4 separate regions of the Homo sapiens genome follow, and all the other regions are linked to region 3. The links are contacts of gene promoters, found by promoter capture Hi-C in human tissues and cell types (Jung and others, 2019). All regions are on one chromosome and are shown on one strand. Each heading gives the region's core, a stretch centred on a gene start or on the middle of the fragment in contact. The rest is flanking DNA. Distances are from core to core; before and after follow the strand shown.

Region 1 (3,191 bases), core at 666-3,165, 880 kb before region 3:
TTGGCTCGTGCTTGGCTTTGAGGAAGAAAGAACAACAAAAAAATAATGCTTTTGCTTTTTTTAAGCACTATGATTGAAGTCCATTTCCATCACGGCAAATGAAAGACAATAACGCATCCACCAGCCCTGAACTTCCATTCGATTCTTTTCTCCCTGGGCAACCCCCAAACACACATGTGAAAAATCCAGACGGTTGACAGAGGACACGTCCGTGCGGCACTTGTAATTTGCCAACTGATCACCTGCCTGAGCACAGCCAGGCTGTGCAATGAGAGAGACGACAAGACGGAGAGAGAGACCCAGAGAGGCGGTTTTCCTGAGTTTGTTTTTCCCTCATCTTAGAGAGCCTACGAACTGGAGTCGGCAGGTTTTGTGGCAGAACCAGGGGCTCTTACCCTTGGGCAGAGCTGGTTTAAATGACGCAGAGCCAGCCTCTCCCTTTCCCCGAGGCCAGACCCTTCCCCTTGGCCACCAGCAGCCCGACGACTCATGCCCCAGTCTCCAGGCCAGGACACTGGTGAAGGAGTCCAGGGACAGGTGGCTCCTCAGACCCGGAGACAGATAACAGAAGCAAGGTGGTCACCGTGCCCCAAAGGGGGTCTGGGCACTGACATAGGGCTGAAGCACAGTGTCAGGAAACTGATACGTCCTAAAGGCCACATGCACTGAACATCCACTCCCAGCCCCAGACACATCTGGCTAAGCTCACCCGTAGGAGGCAGCCCGAGTTTGCTGGCTCTTGGGGAGGAGGAGAAGGCTCAGAAGGACCAAAAAACCTGCGGAGGCTGGCAGAGCCAGGAGAAGCTATTACTCTGTTGGCAGCAGCAGCAGGCGCAGGCAGGGGTCCTTCCCACCATTCACCTTCTGCCCGGACCCCAACGCCTTCACCTCCCAACTGGGCTCTCCAGGGTACTCTCTCCTCAGGTGGAGGGGGGCCAAGAACAGGGGACACTGCCTCTGTGGCACTGGCCACAGCAAGAAGGTGCTCGCATCATCAGCATACAGCTCCCCACTAAAGGAAAAGGCCCTTGAAGGCAGGTGTGGAGATGTCCCTCACCTCTGGCTGTAAAGCGCCGGATTCCCACCAGGGAGGGAACGTGGGGCAGATGCGCGGCTCCAACTCCGCCGGACAGGGGTCGCTGGCCGCCCCTCTCACCCAACCCGGGTTTCCCTCTCACCGGGTCAGCGGCAGGGGAATCAGCTGACAAGCTCGGACCGCCCCCCCCCAACTCCTCCCGGGGCTTGAAGATCTTGCCTTGCCTCATTCGGGGGATTTGGGGGAAGCAGGGGCACCGCGGGGAAGTTTCGCGACGCAGCCAGAGCGCCGGGACCGCGGCTGCCAGCCTTCGGGGCTTGGGGCCGTCGCCCCCGGGCGCAGCGGGCAGCCGGACCCAGCGCCTCTGCCCTGGCGCGGAGCGCAGGGAAGGAGTAGCGCGGACCGGGGGCAGAGCGGGGCGCAAGGCTCGGCCGGGGTCTCGCGGCCGGCCGAGGCCACTTACGTGTGCTGCTGGGGGAAGCTGTAGGCAGAGGCGCCGGGGGCGGCGAGCAGCGGTAGAAGCGGCAGCAGCAGCCACAGCGGGCGCGGGGGCCCGGACGTCGGGCGCCGGGTGCCGGGGCCAGGGTGGGGGCCGCAGCCGGGCCAGGGGCGCGCAGTCCGCGCTGGGCCGGGCCGAGAGGCGCCGCAGGTCCGAGCCGGCACCGCCATGTTTCCATTCAAGATGCGGCGCCGCGGGGAGGGGGGGCAGTGGCGGCGGCGGCGGCGGCGGCGGGGTTGGGGGGGCGCGGGCGGCGGGCGGTAACTCGGCCTCTCCTCCGCCGCCGCCTTCTCCGCGAGGGGCCTCCGGGGCTGCACGGGCCGCAGCGCCTCTGCGGGCTGCGCGCTGCTATCTCCCTGCAGCGCTGGCTCCAAGCGCTCTGAGCGCCCGGCCCGGGACCTGCGCTCAAATAGCAGCCGCCGCCAACCTGCCGGCACCGCCCTCTTCTCTCCCTCCCTCCCTCTCTCTTCCCGGGCTGGCCCGCCCCCGCGCGCCCCCGCCGCGGCCACGCGCCCACCCGTGCCCGCGCGCCTCTCGTCCCCGCGCAGCCCGAATCCTGCCCTACTGGCTCGGGCGTCCTGCGCCCCAGCTGCTACCCGAGCGCCCCGGGTGCGCCCCCGCCCCCACACCTCAGACCCTGCCGCTCCTCCCCACCCCACCCGCGGGAAGAGTCCCGGGCCCCGCGGCCCAAGGCAGGAGCATATGTGACCCTTTTGGGGGCTCGACCTTCAACAGGCTTAAGGCCTAGAGTCACAGGTTTAATGGTGGAGTGACAGCTTCAGCGGAGACCAGAAAAGGAGGCATGCTGAACTTACAGCCCCCGTGGCTCTAGCTATCTTTAAGATTTCTCTCTGTCGGGGGCTTGCACGCCCGGCTGCTGGCAGAAAGGGCCTGGACCTCCTGGTTCCCTAAGCGGAAACCTGGGCACGGCTGTACGGTTGTGGGGGGCTGGGGACGGCAGGATGCAGCCCTCTGCAGCCACTCGCTTCGCTTCCCTGGGCTGAACAGGCACTGTGTGCAGGCCTGTCCCAAGCCCCAGTTCCCGGAGTTTGCACAGCCTCTGTTTAGATTCTTCCAGAGCCAGGAAGCTCATCTCTGCACAACCCAGTCCTTTCTGTCCTGGAGGCCCCTGGCTCTTCCCTGCTGTGGGCAGAAGACTGGGGCTGGTGTCAACCTTGACTCCACAGCTTGTGGCCCTTTCAGAGCCTCAGTGTCCTCGCTTGTGAATGCTTGTGTGGGTGCCCACTCCCATTTCCAGGATGAAGTGAGAATGGGGAGAATCTCTTGGTAAACTGAAGCATTCACAATGAGGGGAGACCATCCCTAGGATTCTACTGAAGTTACCCTGGAACCCAGCTCTGCCTCTGGTGCAGATAGGATGAGAGAATGCTCCCCACCAACTTGACACAGGGCAGGACCCCCTCAGCAATAACTGCCCACAGACCTGGCCTATCACGAGGAATGAGGGATAGTAACCAGCTGGGCAGGATGGTTCGGAAATGTCCAGATGCCCCACCTCATGGTATCAGTGGCTCTCCTATCACCCACTCACAAGTCAGCCCAAGGAGGGCTTGCAGTTGAAAGGGAATAGTAGCCCCTGGACTGAAAAGGGTAGGGGTAGGGGCTGGAAATAGGGCCTAGGACAGCCTTCCCTTG
Region 2 (3,355 bases), core at 502-3,001, 670 kb before region 3:
AATAATAAAAAGATGTTGACGTGGATGTAGTAAAAAGGGAACACTTTTACATTGGTGGTGGGAATGTAAACTAGTACAACCACTATGGAAAACAGAATGGAGATTCCTTAAATAACTAAAAGTAGAAATACCATTTAATTGAGCAGTCTCACCACCCAAAGGAAGTAAGTCATTATATGAAAAAGATACTTGCAGATCCATGTTTATGTGTGCTATAGCAGCACAATTTGCAATTGCAAAAATAAGGAACCAGCCTAAATGCCCATTAACCAATGAGTGTATAAAGAAACTGTGATATGGACAGCATGGACTACTACTCAGCCATAAAAAGGAACAAAATAATGGCATTTGCAGCAACCTGGATGGAGTTGGAGACTATTATTCTAAGTGAAGTAACAGAGGAATGGAAAACCAAATATCATACGTTCTCACTTGTAAGTGGGAGCTAAGCCATGAGGATGTAAAGACATAAGAAGAGGGATAAAAGACTTCACATTGGGCACCGCATACACTGGTCAGGTGATAGGTATACCAAAATCTTAGAAATCTCCAGTAAAGAACTTACCATATAATCAAGAACCACCTGTTTCCCAAAAACTATTGAAATAAAAAAGGCCACTGGCTTTTTTCTTGCATACATATATTGTGATTACTATGGTTTTTGTCCTTTATTAGTATTACATAGTACATTAATTGATTTTCATATGTTGAACTGACCTTGCATTTCCTGGAATAAAAATCCTACTTGTAATGTTGCTTAGTCCTTTTTTTTTTTTTTTGAGACAGAGTTTTGCTCTGTTGCCCAGACTGGAGTGCAGTGGTGTGATCTCAGCTCACTGCAAGCTTTGCCTCCTGGGTTCACATCATTCTCCTGCCTCAGCCTCCCGAGTAGCTGGGACTACAGGTGCCCGCCACCACGCCTGGCTAATTTTTTGTATTTTTTAGTAGAGACAGGGTTTCACCATGTTAGCCAGGATGGTCTCGATCTCCTGACCTCGTGATCCACCCTCCTTAGCCTCCCAAAGTGCTGGGATTACAGGCGTGAACCACCGCGCCCGGCCCAGTCCTTTTTAATATTGCTGGTAATATTTTGTTGAAGATTCTTGTGTTTGTATTAATAAAAAATATTACTTTGTAGTTTTTGTTTGATGTCTTTGTCTTGTTCTGATATTAGGGTAATACTGGCCCCATATAATTAGTTGGGAAATGTTCTTTCCTTTCGTTTTGGAAGAGTTTATGAAGGATTGATATTAATTATTTGAATGTTTGGTAGATTTCTCCAGAGAAGCCATCTGGGCTGTGCTTTTCTGGGCTGTGCTTTTTTTTGTAGGAAGTTTTAAAAGTACTAATTTGATCTTTTTACTTGTTACAGGCATATTCAGATTTTCTATTTCTTCAGTAATTCGTCTCTTTCTAGGAATTTGTCCATTTCACGTAAATTATCTGATTTGGTGTACAGTTGTCCATAATGTTCTTTTATAATCATTTCTTACTTTTATAAGGTAGTTGGTGATGTTCCATGTCTTATTCTTGATTTTAGTAATTTAAGTCTTTTAAAAAAAATCTTGGTCAATCCAACTAAAGGCCTGTCACATTTATGGATCTTTTCAAAAAACCAACTTTCAGTTTTGCCAATTTTCTCTATTTTCCATTTATTTCCTTTACCTTAATCATTGTCATTTTTTCCTCTGCTTGCCTTAGAGTTAATTTTCTATTCTTTTTTCCAGTTTCTTATGGTGAATGTTTAAGTTATTTGAAATTTTTCATCTTTTTTATTAGAGATATTTATAGCAATAAATGTTCTCCTAAGCAGTTCTTTAGCCACCTCTTGTAAGACTTTTTATTTTTATTTTTTGAGACGGAGTCTCGCTCTGTTGCCCAGGCTGTAGTGCAGTGGCATGATCTCGGCTCACTGCAACCTCTGTCTCCCAGGTTCAAGCAATTCTCCTGCCTCAGCCTCCTGAGTAGCTGGAACTATAGGCACCTTCCACCACGCCTGGCTAATTTTTGTATCTTTAGTAGAGTCGGGGTTTTGCCATATTGGCCAGGCTGGTCTCAAACTCCTGACCTCAACTGATCTGACTGCCTCAGCCTCCCAAAGTGCTGGGATTACAGGCATGAACCACCATGTCCGGCCGCCTCTTGTAAGATTTGACAGGTGGTAGTCTCATTTTTATTCATCTCAAAGTCTTTTCTGTTTTTCTTTGTGATTTCCTCTTTGACTCACTGGTTAATTAGGAGTGTGTTGTTTAATTTCCACATATTTGTATATTCCCTAATTTTCCTACTGTTACAGGAGATCGATTATAGTTTGTGTAATTTCAGCCCTTTTACATTTATTGAAGCTTGTTTATGGCATAACAGGCTCTATCAAGTGTTTCATGAGCACTTGATAACTATGCTGCTGTTGTTGGGTGGAATGTTTTGTAATTGTCTCTTAGGCCTAAAACAGACAATGTTTTGCCCTTAATAAGAAATATATGTAGGTCTCTGGTTCTTTCCCAGTTCTTGGAATGATCCCTTTGATGTCCTGGATGGAGCATCAGGGGAGTGCACCTTTGTTAGTTTGAAGATGGGTGAAGAGACATTACTGTACAAAGGGAGATGAGAAAGGAGGAACCAGTATGGTGCCTCAACTTTAAGTGTGTTCTCAGGCAGATTTATTTGAGGAAGTCCTATAAAGGAGACAAAGGATCTGGAAATGGGTTAGCTTAAAACCATTTGTGGTTCTTTATCTTTTAGTAGGACTTTATTTTTCTCCAGGGGTATGTGTGCCCCAGGGTGAAGATAAATTGAAAGGATCTTGTAAAGAGTTAAGGTTAAGGATTTGCTTTTATATGCACTGGGAAACTACTGAAGTTTTAGGAAATAAACATTTTGTTTTAGTGAGGTTAATCTGTAGTATGGATAATGGGAAGAAGAGACTAGAACTATGGAGCTTATTTAGAGTTTATGCAGAAAGAAATTTACATTCAATTCATTAAAAACTTGTTGAGAATTTATTTTGTGTTAGGCATGGGCTGAGCTCCTCTTGTTCAAGAATTCACAATCACATTCAGTGTTTCAAGTACAGTAATTTTGATATGTCTTAGGTATGGTGGTGGCACAAGAAAAGTTACTGTCTATAGTCTGATAAATTATATATATATATATATTTTTTGTTTGTTTGTTTTAGATTCTGAGCTCTGGATGCAGATATCACATACTTACTAGATTTCGCCATTTGGATGTCTCCCAGGGACGTCAACTACATGTCTAGATGGAGATCATGATCTTTAGTCATCTCCAGTCTGTTCTTGTTTTAGTATTTTTGGCTCAATAAATGATGTTAGTCAGGTAAAGTTACAATTTTGCA
Region 3 (3,437 bases), core at 13-2,512:
TGTACCATTGTCCCAAGAGGTATTTTACTGTATATATTGTGGTAGCATGTTCAAAATCCAACAAGTAATGTGAATTTTAGATGTAAATATCTGCCACTTGATTTTTTTTCCCCCTTTCCCCACTTCCTTGACTGCTGTGATGTGAATTAAAGATAAATACGTGATACTGATCCACTGAATTCACTGAATGGGAGCAGAGGATGTGCCCCTCTCCAACCCTTGTCGCCGGGCTCCAAGCCCTTTTTAGCCCTATAGACATGTCCTTTTTGCACTGAGTAGAGCCAACGGTTCCCGCATCCTGCCTTGAAGGCAGGCAGCCAGGAGGGCACTTGAAAGGAGGGCAGTCGAAAAGGAAACATCCTCCAGTGCTTCTCTGGTGATTCCCGGGACCCCACTCAGGAGGTCCCACGGCAGCGGGGGACCCCGAGGGCCTAGCCGGGGAGGCAGGAGGAGGCTGGCCAGCCACCAAGCCACGATTCAGAGCTTGTAAGGGCACCTCCCGAGCCCCTCACCTTCCCACTCTGAGGCGACCCCATGTCCTCGACCGATGATCTGGCCCGGGCGCTTCCCTCCACGGTCTAGAGTGGCGGCCCAGCTTTGAGCTTGGCGCGCCTTGAGCCCTTCCTTCAGATGTCCCGCAGTCCGTCCACCCCGCACGTCTCCTATCAGCCTATGCACGGCGGGCTCCGGTCAGGTGGAGGATCAGCAGGTGGGCTTTCAAAGGTTGGATCCGTTGCCCACGCGAATGAAAGAAGAAAAAAGAAACCTCTTTGAGCCTTGCCTGCGGCCGCCCGCCCTTCCTGCCTAACCTGTTGTCTTGGCTGACCCCAGAACTCCTGCACCACGAGTCGGAGTCCGGGCGAGGAGATCAGCAGGGGTTTTCGAGGGAGCCTGGGGCCCAGGGCAGGGGTACGCGGGTCAACTCAACAGATGTAAGGCGTGGCCGAACCCCATTCAGCTAGCAGTACCCAGCCTCAGCCACAGTCGCTGCCCTTACCCAAGATGGCGGCCCACACCGCTTCCGTCGCTGCTGTAGTCGCTTCCTGCGGCCAGCCCGGGTTCAATCAGCGGCCGACAACTGTCTAGGGCTCAGACACCACCAGCCAATGAGGGAGGGCAGCGTGGAGCCGCCCGTCTGGGCTCGCGGCTCCTGGACCAATGGGGAAGTGGCATGTGGGAGGGCGCCGGGGGGCCCCCCGCCAATGGGGAGCTACGGCGCGCGGCCGGGACTTGGAGGCGGTGCGGCGCGGCGGGTGCGGTTCAGTCGGTCGGCGGCGGCAGCGGAGGAGGAGGAGGAGGAGGAGGATGAGGAGGATGAGGAGGATGTGGGCCACGCAGGGGCTGGCGGTGGCGCTGGCTCTGAGCGTGCTGCCGGGCAGCCGGGCGCTGCGGCCGGGCGACTGCGAAGGTGCGGGATAGGGGGCCGGGGGCCGCGCTCCGTGACCGTTCTGGCGGCGGCGCTGAACCCCACAACATCACCAGACGGCCGGGGCCAAGAGGGCGAGGGCGGGGGCGGGGGCGGGGGCGACAGCAGGTCCCCGCGGGGCCTGCATGAGGAGGCTCCGGCGCCCGCCCTAGTAAATCTTTCTTGGGCCTAGAAAACATTGGTCCGACGAAGAAAAGTTGAGACTAGATCCCGTTGAAAACTTGTCCTGAAATCTCCATCACTCCTGAGTTATTGTCCCCACCACCATCTAGAGGTTACCGCTCCCCGTTCGGCGTCGGGAGCTCCAGGGCTGGCCGTGGGTGCTGCGCCCTGTCTGTTGGGATCACGAAGCTGCACCTCTGGGTCCGCTGTTGTATTTGGAAATTAGCAGCAGCATTTTGATCATTTTTCTCTTCACCTTCCAGTCTCTCCATTTATGAGGTCACAGTGAGTCCCGTCTCAAGGACACGTGTTCACCATGGGCTTAAACTTGATGAAAGGAGCAGGGAGAAGTCGTTTATAGGTCATTGGGTGATGCTTGGTCCTTTGATGCCCTGGGTGTACCAGGGGACCCCCGCCACTTGGAACCGGGTTCTGTCTACCTGTAGACACCTGAGAAAAATCGGTGATGGAAAAGCTCACCTCTAATGATTCATCTCCGTGTCTCCTATTAAAATTGCTGGCGGAGTTCTTTTCTGGTGGATTGGAACAGCTTGGTGATTGCTGAGCATCTCCCGTCCCTCTCTTTTCCAGTTTGTATTTCTTATCTGGGAAGATTTTACCAGGACCTCAAAGACAGAGATGTCACATTCTCACCAGCCACTATTGAAAACGAACTTATAAAGTTCTGCCGGGAAGCAAGAGGCAAAGAGAATCGGTTGGTAAGTAGCTGGTGATCCTCCCCAACTGGCCCTGGCTCATGTTAACCCTCGGCTTCACCAGCCGTTTGATAAAAGGCCTTGCCCACCTCTCTGTTCAGGAAGCCAGCTACTCTCTCCATAAACTAATGTGAGAAGACTGAAGTGCTTCTATGTCCTTCCCAAAGCAGCATGTGTTCTGCAACTGTGATTTTTTTTTATCCTGTTAGTCTTTATTAAGCACCTACTATGTGCTAGGCACTGGGAATATCAGGGGAAAGAAGTGACAGTCGGACACACAAATAATGCAATGTCTGGGTGTCATGAAGAAAATGGACCAGCAGGTGCTGATTTAGAGTGGCCAAGAAGTCTCTGAGGAAGGGTTATCATTGAAGTGGGGTAAGACCATCCCATACAGGGAACAGCAGTGTGAGTGCCCAGAGGCCTGAAAGAGTGTGGCATGTATGTGGACAGGAGAAGGTGACAGGGTGCCTACAGGATAGGCAAGGGCCGAATCCAAGACAAAAGCCCTAGTGAAGCAATGGGTTTTCTAACTTGAATTTCTCTGACAGTCTCTGGCTTTTCTCTCTGTTAAAGGTTTGAACCCTGGTGACACTTAAATTCATTTGGTGGCTGTCAGCTTGGACTGAGCATGTGTTAAGAGTCCAGGGTTTACACTGGCTGAATCTGACTACCAGTACAGGCAGGGCACCGAAAAATGCCGCTGTGGGCCAGGTGCGGTGGCTCATGCCTGTCTTCCTAGCACTTTGGGAGGCCAAGGTGGGAGGATTGCTTGAACTTAGGAGTTTGAGATCAGCCTGGGCAAAGTGGTGAAATCCTGTCTGCACAAAAAAATTTTTAGGCTAGGCGTGGTGGCTCACACCTGTAATCTCAGCACTTTGGGAGACCGAGGTGGGTGGATCACCTGAGGTCAGGAGTTCAAGACCAGCCTGGCCAACATGGCAAAACTCTATCTCTACTAAAAAATACAAAAATTAGCCAGGCATGGTGACAGGCGCCTGTAATCCCAGCTGCTCAGGAGGCTGAGGCAGGGAGAATTGCTTGAACCTGGGAGGCGGAGGTTGCAGTGAGCCGAGCCAAGATTGCGCCACTGCACTCCAGCCTGGGTGACAGAGCAAAACTTTATCTCAAAA
Region 4 (3,163 bases), core at 61-2,560, 690 kb before region 3:
CGCCTGTAATCCCAGCTACTGGGGAGGCTGAGGCATGAGAATCGCTTGAACCCAGGAGGTGGAGGTTGCAGTGAGCTGAGATTGCGCCACTGCACACCAGCCTGGGGGATAGAGCGAGACTTTGTCTCCAAAAAAACTAAAAAAAAAATAAAAATAAAAAGAATGGTAAGAGTTTCTAATACTTAGAGGCAGATATCCTTAAAAATGGAGATTTCCTTTATAGATTTAGATTTCTTTTACAAAAGAGTTTCAGGATAGCCAATTAAATTCCAGAAAAGTGTATTTTAGTTCAATAGGGTATTCTTTTTAACATAGCTACTGTTTCTTAGCTAAAATTACTGAGTTCAGAGTAATGGGTGGAGCGCATTAAAGAATGGGGCCAACAGGCTGGGTGCAGTGGCTCACGCCTGTAATCCCAGCACTTTGGGAGGCCAAAGCGGGCAGATCACTTAAGGCCAGGAGTTTGAGACTAGCCTTGCCTGCATGGTGAAACTCTGTCTCTACTAAAAAAATACAAAAATTTGCTGGGCGTGGTGGTGCATGCCTGTAATCCCAGCTACTTGGGAGGCTGAGGTATGAGAATCACTTGAACCGGGGAGGTGGAGGTTACAGTGAGGCTGAGATCACTCCACTGCACTCCAGCCTGGGCGGCAGAGCCAGACTCTGTCTCAAAACAAACAAACAAAAAAACAAATGAAAAACAAAAAAACAAACAAAAAGAACTCAGTATAAATAGATCTGAAAAAGAAGCAAGCCTATTTTACTTGAGGGCCTACCTTCATAAATACCTTATATAGGATAGCTTTCTTTTTCCCTTTGGGGCAGGCTAGTAACTAAGCCGAAAGGTTAGCAGATTTAATTTTGTTTTAAATCAATTAGTCACTTAAGGTTTTTATTTGCCTTTGATAACGTCTTTAGATAAAAATAATGCAATCTTTTTAGAAGCTTCTACATATCAGTAGGCATCCCTAGATAAGACTAATTTGGGAGCCCCCAATCACATGCACTTCTGTTCAGTGTTGTTCATTCGGATAAGCACTGTAACTTATCTTTAGTAAGATTTCACCATTTCTGTAAGACTTTGCTGCCTCCAGGGCTTAATACTTATGCATGTATAAGCCAGAAGGAACTCAGTTCTTCACAAATTAAGGAGCCTGTTTTTACCTCAAATACTGGCTTTGCTCTCAGGTTCCCCTGATCAACTTAGCTAGTGATTTTTTTTCTATCTAAGTGCACAAGAAAAATGAAACAAAGAGGGTAGAATGCACAAATCCCTGTGAATTTCCAAAAGCCAAATTTTATACCCCCTCCAATATTGCCATTTACTACTGGTTTCTTTCTGACCCAGTCAGATGTAAGAGGCCTCTAACTGGATCCAGCCCAATTAATATCAGATGTAATCTGATCCTAGACCTAGTCCAGTTTCTGTCATGACCTCCAAACCCAGTTTGGATCAGAAATTTGCTCAAAGAGACTCAAAGAGCGCTAAGCACAAATCTGTGGAACTTTGGAATGCGAGAGAGAACTTTCCACAATCCTCAGCTGTTCTGAGAGAGGAATGGACACAATGGGCCTGGTGGGTATCTCGCTTGGTCACTCAGTGCTCCTGGGGGTCGCTAGAAGCTCTACTTCGGATCCCACTTCTGACACCATCTGTTAAAAGAAAAACTTCAGCTGAATTCAATTTAAAAGACTGTAATTGAGCAAAGAATGATTCACAAATTGGGCAGCCTTCTGAGCCAGAGTAGGCTCAGTGACTCCAGCACAGCCATGTGGTAGAGGAGGATTTATGGACAGAAAAAGGAAAGTGATGTACAGAAAATGAAGTGAGGTACAGAAATAGCCAGATTGGTTATAGCCTGGGGTTTGTCTTACTTGAACACGGTTTGAACAGAATCAGGTCCTTAAGGCATCAAGACCTCTGTGTCTCCATTTGATATCTCTGTGTCTATGTGTTGCATTCTTTCTTGCAGTCATTAACTTTTAAAAATTTACTCCTTTTATAATTGGGGACCATAGCTCCTACAGTTCTGGGTACATGTTTACACAGCATGATGGAATAGGAAAGAGCTGTTTCCAGTCAGAAAAACTTCAGGGAATGAATGGTATGGCCCAATCTACTTCATATGCCCAGTTATTGAAGGGGTCCGATTGACAGCCCCACTGAAATCACTAGAGTGGGGGAGTTTTTGTAAAAGGTGAGAGTTAAGGATGCTGGACACAGAACAGTAAGGAGATAAGACTACCTGATGCACATCGAGTTCACAAAGGTATTGTAAATGTCAAACATGTACAATGGATAGAAGTAGGATGTGCTGTAGGAGTTCAGAGCCTGGGGGCGTGCAAGGCAATATCCCTAAGAGTGAAAGTAGAACTGAGTGTTGATGAGTGAATAGGATTTTGTGAGTGAAGAAGAAGCATGAGAGCAAATTCAGGTCACAGGGGACAGTAAGGCATGAAAGATTTGTGCAAGGTGTTTTGGGAGGACCATGTTATTTGCAGCTACCATCTTCCCTTTAATTTAGTGATACTTTTTTGGGGGTGGGGTGGGGTAGGTGTCAATTCCATTTTGAAGATCTGTTAAGTGCTATGGGAAACCCGCATATGCACAAGTAAAATTTTACTAGTCGTGTCAGAATGTTTATGGACTTCTTGTTGCTTGTCTTTGGACTCAGGTTAAGAATCTCTACTTTAAACATTTCAACTTGTCTTTTTTCTCTACATTGTGTGTATACTTTTTAAAGCCTACCTTTAAAGCTCCTGATTTTCTGACACATAGCACTGAATTTTTTTTTTTTTTTTTAAGAGAGAGTCTCACTAACTCTGTTGCTCAGGCTGGCATGCAGTGGCGCTATGTAGGCTCACTGTAACCTCCACCTCCTGGGTTAAAGCAATCCTCCCCCTTCAGCCTCCCGAGTAGCTGGGATTACAGATGTGCACCACCATGCCTGGCTAATTTTTGTATTTTTAGTAGAGACAGGGTGTCACCATGTTGGCCAGGCTGGTCTCAAATTCCTGACCTCAAGTGATCCACCCGCCTCAGCCTCCCAAAGTGCTGGAATTATAGGCGTGAGCCACTGTGCCTGCCCATAGCACTGAATGCTAGTTTCAGAATTTATTTCTGTCGTTTACTTAATTGAAATGAAGAGTTTAAAGGAAAATG

Evidence for each region. The method cuts DNA at HindIII sites, captures the fragments that hold promoters and counts their contacts. A contact is called where the count stands out against the background at its distance.
Region 1: the fragment with the promoter of CACNA2D2 here is called in contact with the fragment with the promoter of MANF in region 3 in 2 of the 25 tissues and cell types used here (lymphoblastoid cells and thymus).
Region 2: a fragment that was not itself captured here is called in contact with the fragment with the promoter of MANF in region 3 in 2 of the 25 tissues and cell types used here (bladder and dorsolateral prefrontal cortex).
Region 4: a fragment that was not itself captured here is called in contact with the fragment with the promoter of MANF in region 3 in 1 of the 25 tissues and cell types used here (dorsolateral prefrontal cortex).

The regions. Positions count from the first base shown.
Region 1 is chr3:50,501,719-50,504,909 of GRCh38, forward strand. CACNA2D2 (calcium voltage-gated channel auxiliary subunit alpha2delta 2) reads right to left here and starts at 1,916. Exons shown (of 38, transcript NM_006030.4): 1 at 1,500-1,916. The coding sequence starts at 1,705. RefSeq lists enhancers at 2,027-2,535, 2,536-3,044. The HindIII fragment of the contact is 18,854 bases long and covers 1-3,191 here.
Region 2 is chr3:50,710,501-50,713,855 of GRCh38, forward strand. All of the region lies in intron 1 of DOCK3 (dedicator of cytokinesis 3), which reads left to right. Among named protein-coding and RNA genes, the nearest start is that of MIR4787, 37 kb to the left of the region's middle. The HindIII fragment of the contact is 4,993 bases long and covers 1-3,355 here.
Region 3 is chr3:51,384,029-51,387,465 of GRCh38, forward strand. MANF (mesencephalic astrocyte derived neurotrophic factor) reads left to right here and starts at 1,263. Exons shown (of 4, transcript NM_006010.6): 1 at 1,263-1,408; 2 at 2,180-2,307. The coding sequence starts at 1,315. It overlaps DOCK3 (dedicator of cytokinesis 3), which reads left to right. Exons shown (of 53, transcript NM_004947.5): 53 at 1-170. RefSeq lists an enhancer at 679-1,028 and a silencer at 1,089-1,458. The HindIII fragment of the contact is 5,502 bases long and covers 1-3,437 here.
Region 4 is chr3:50,694,142-50,697,304 of GRCh38, forward strand. The region is part of intron 1 of DOCK3 (dedicator of cytokinesis 3); the gene reads left to right. Among named protein-coding and RNA genes, the nearest start is that of MIR4787, 21 kb to the left of the region's middle. The HindIII fragment of the contact is 5,759 bases long and covers 1-3,163 here.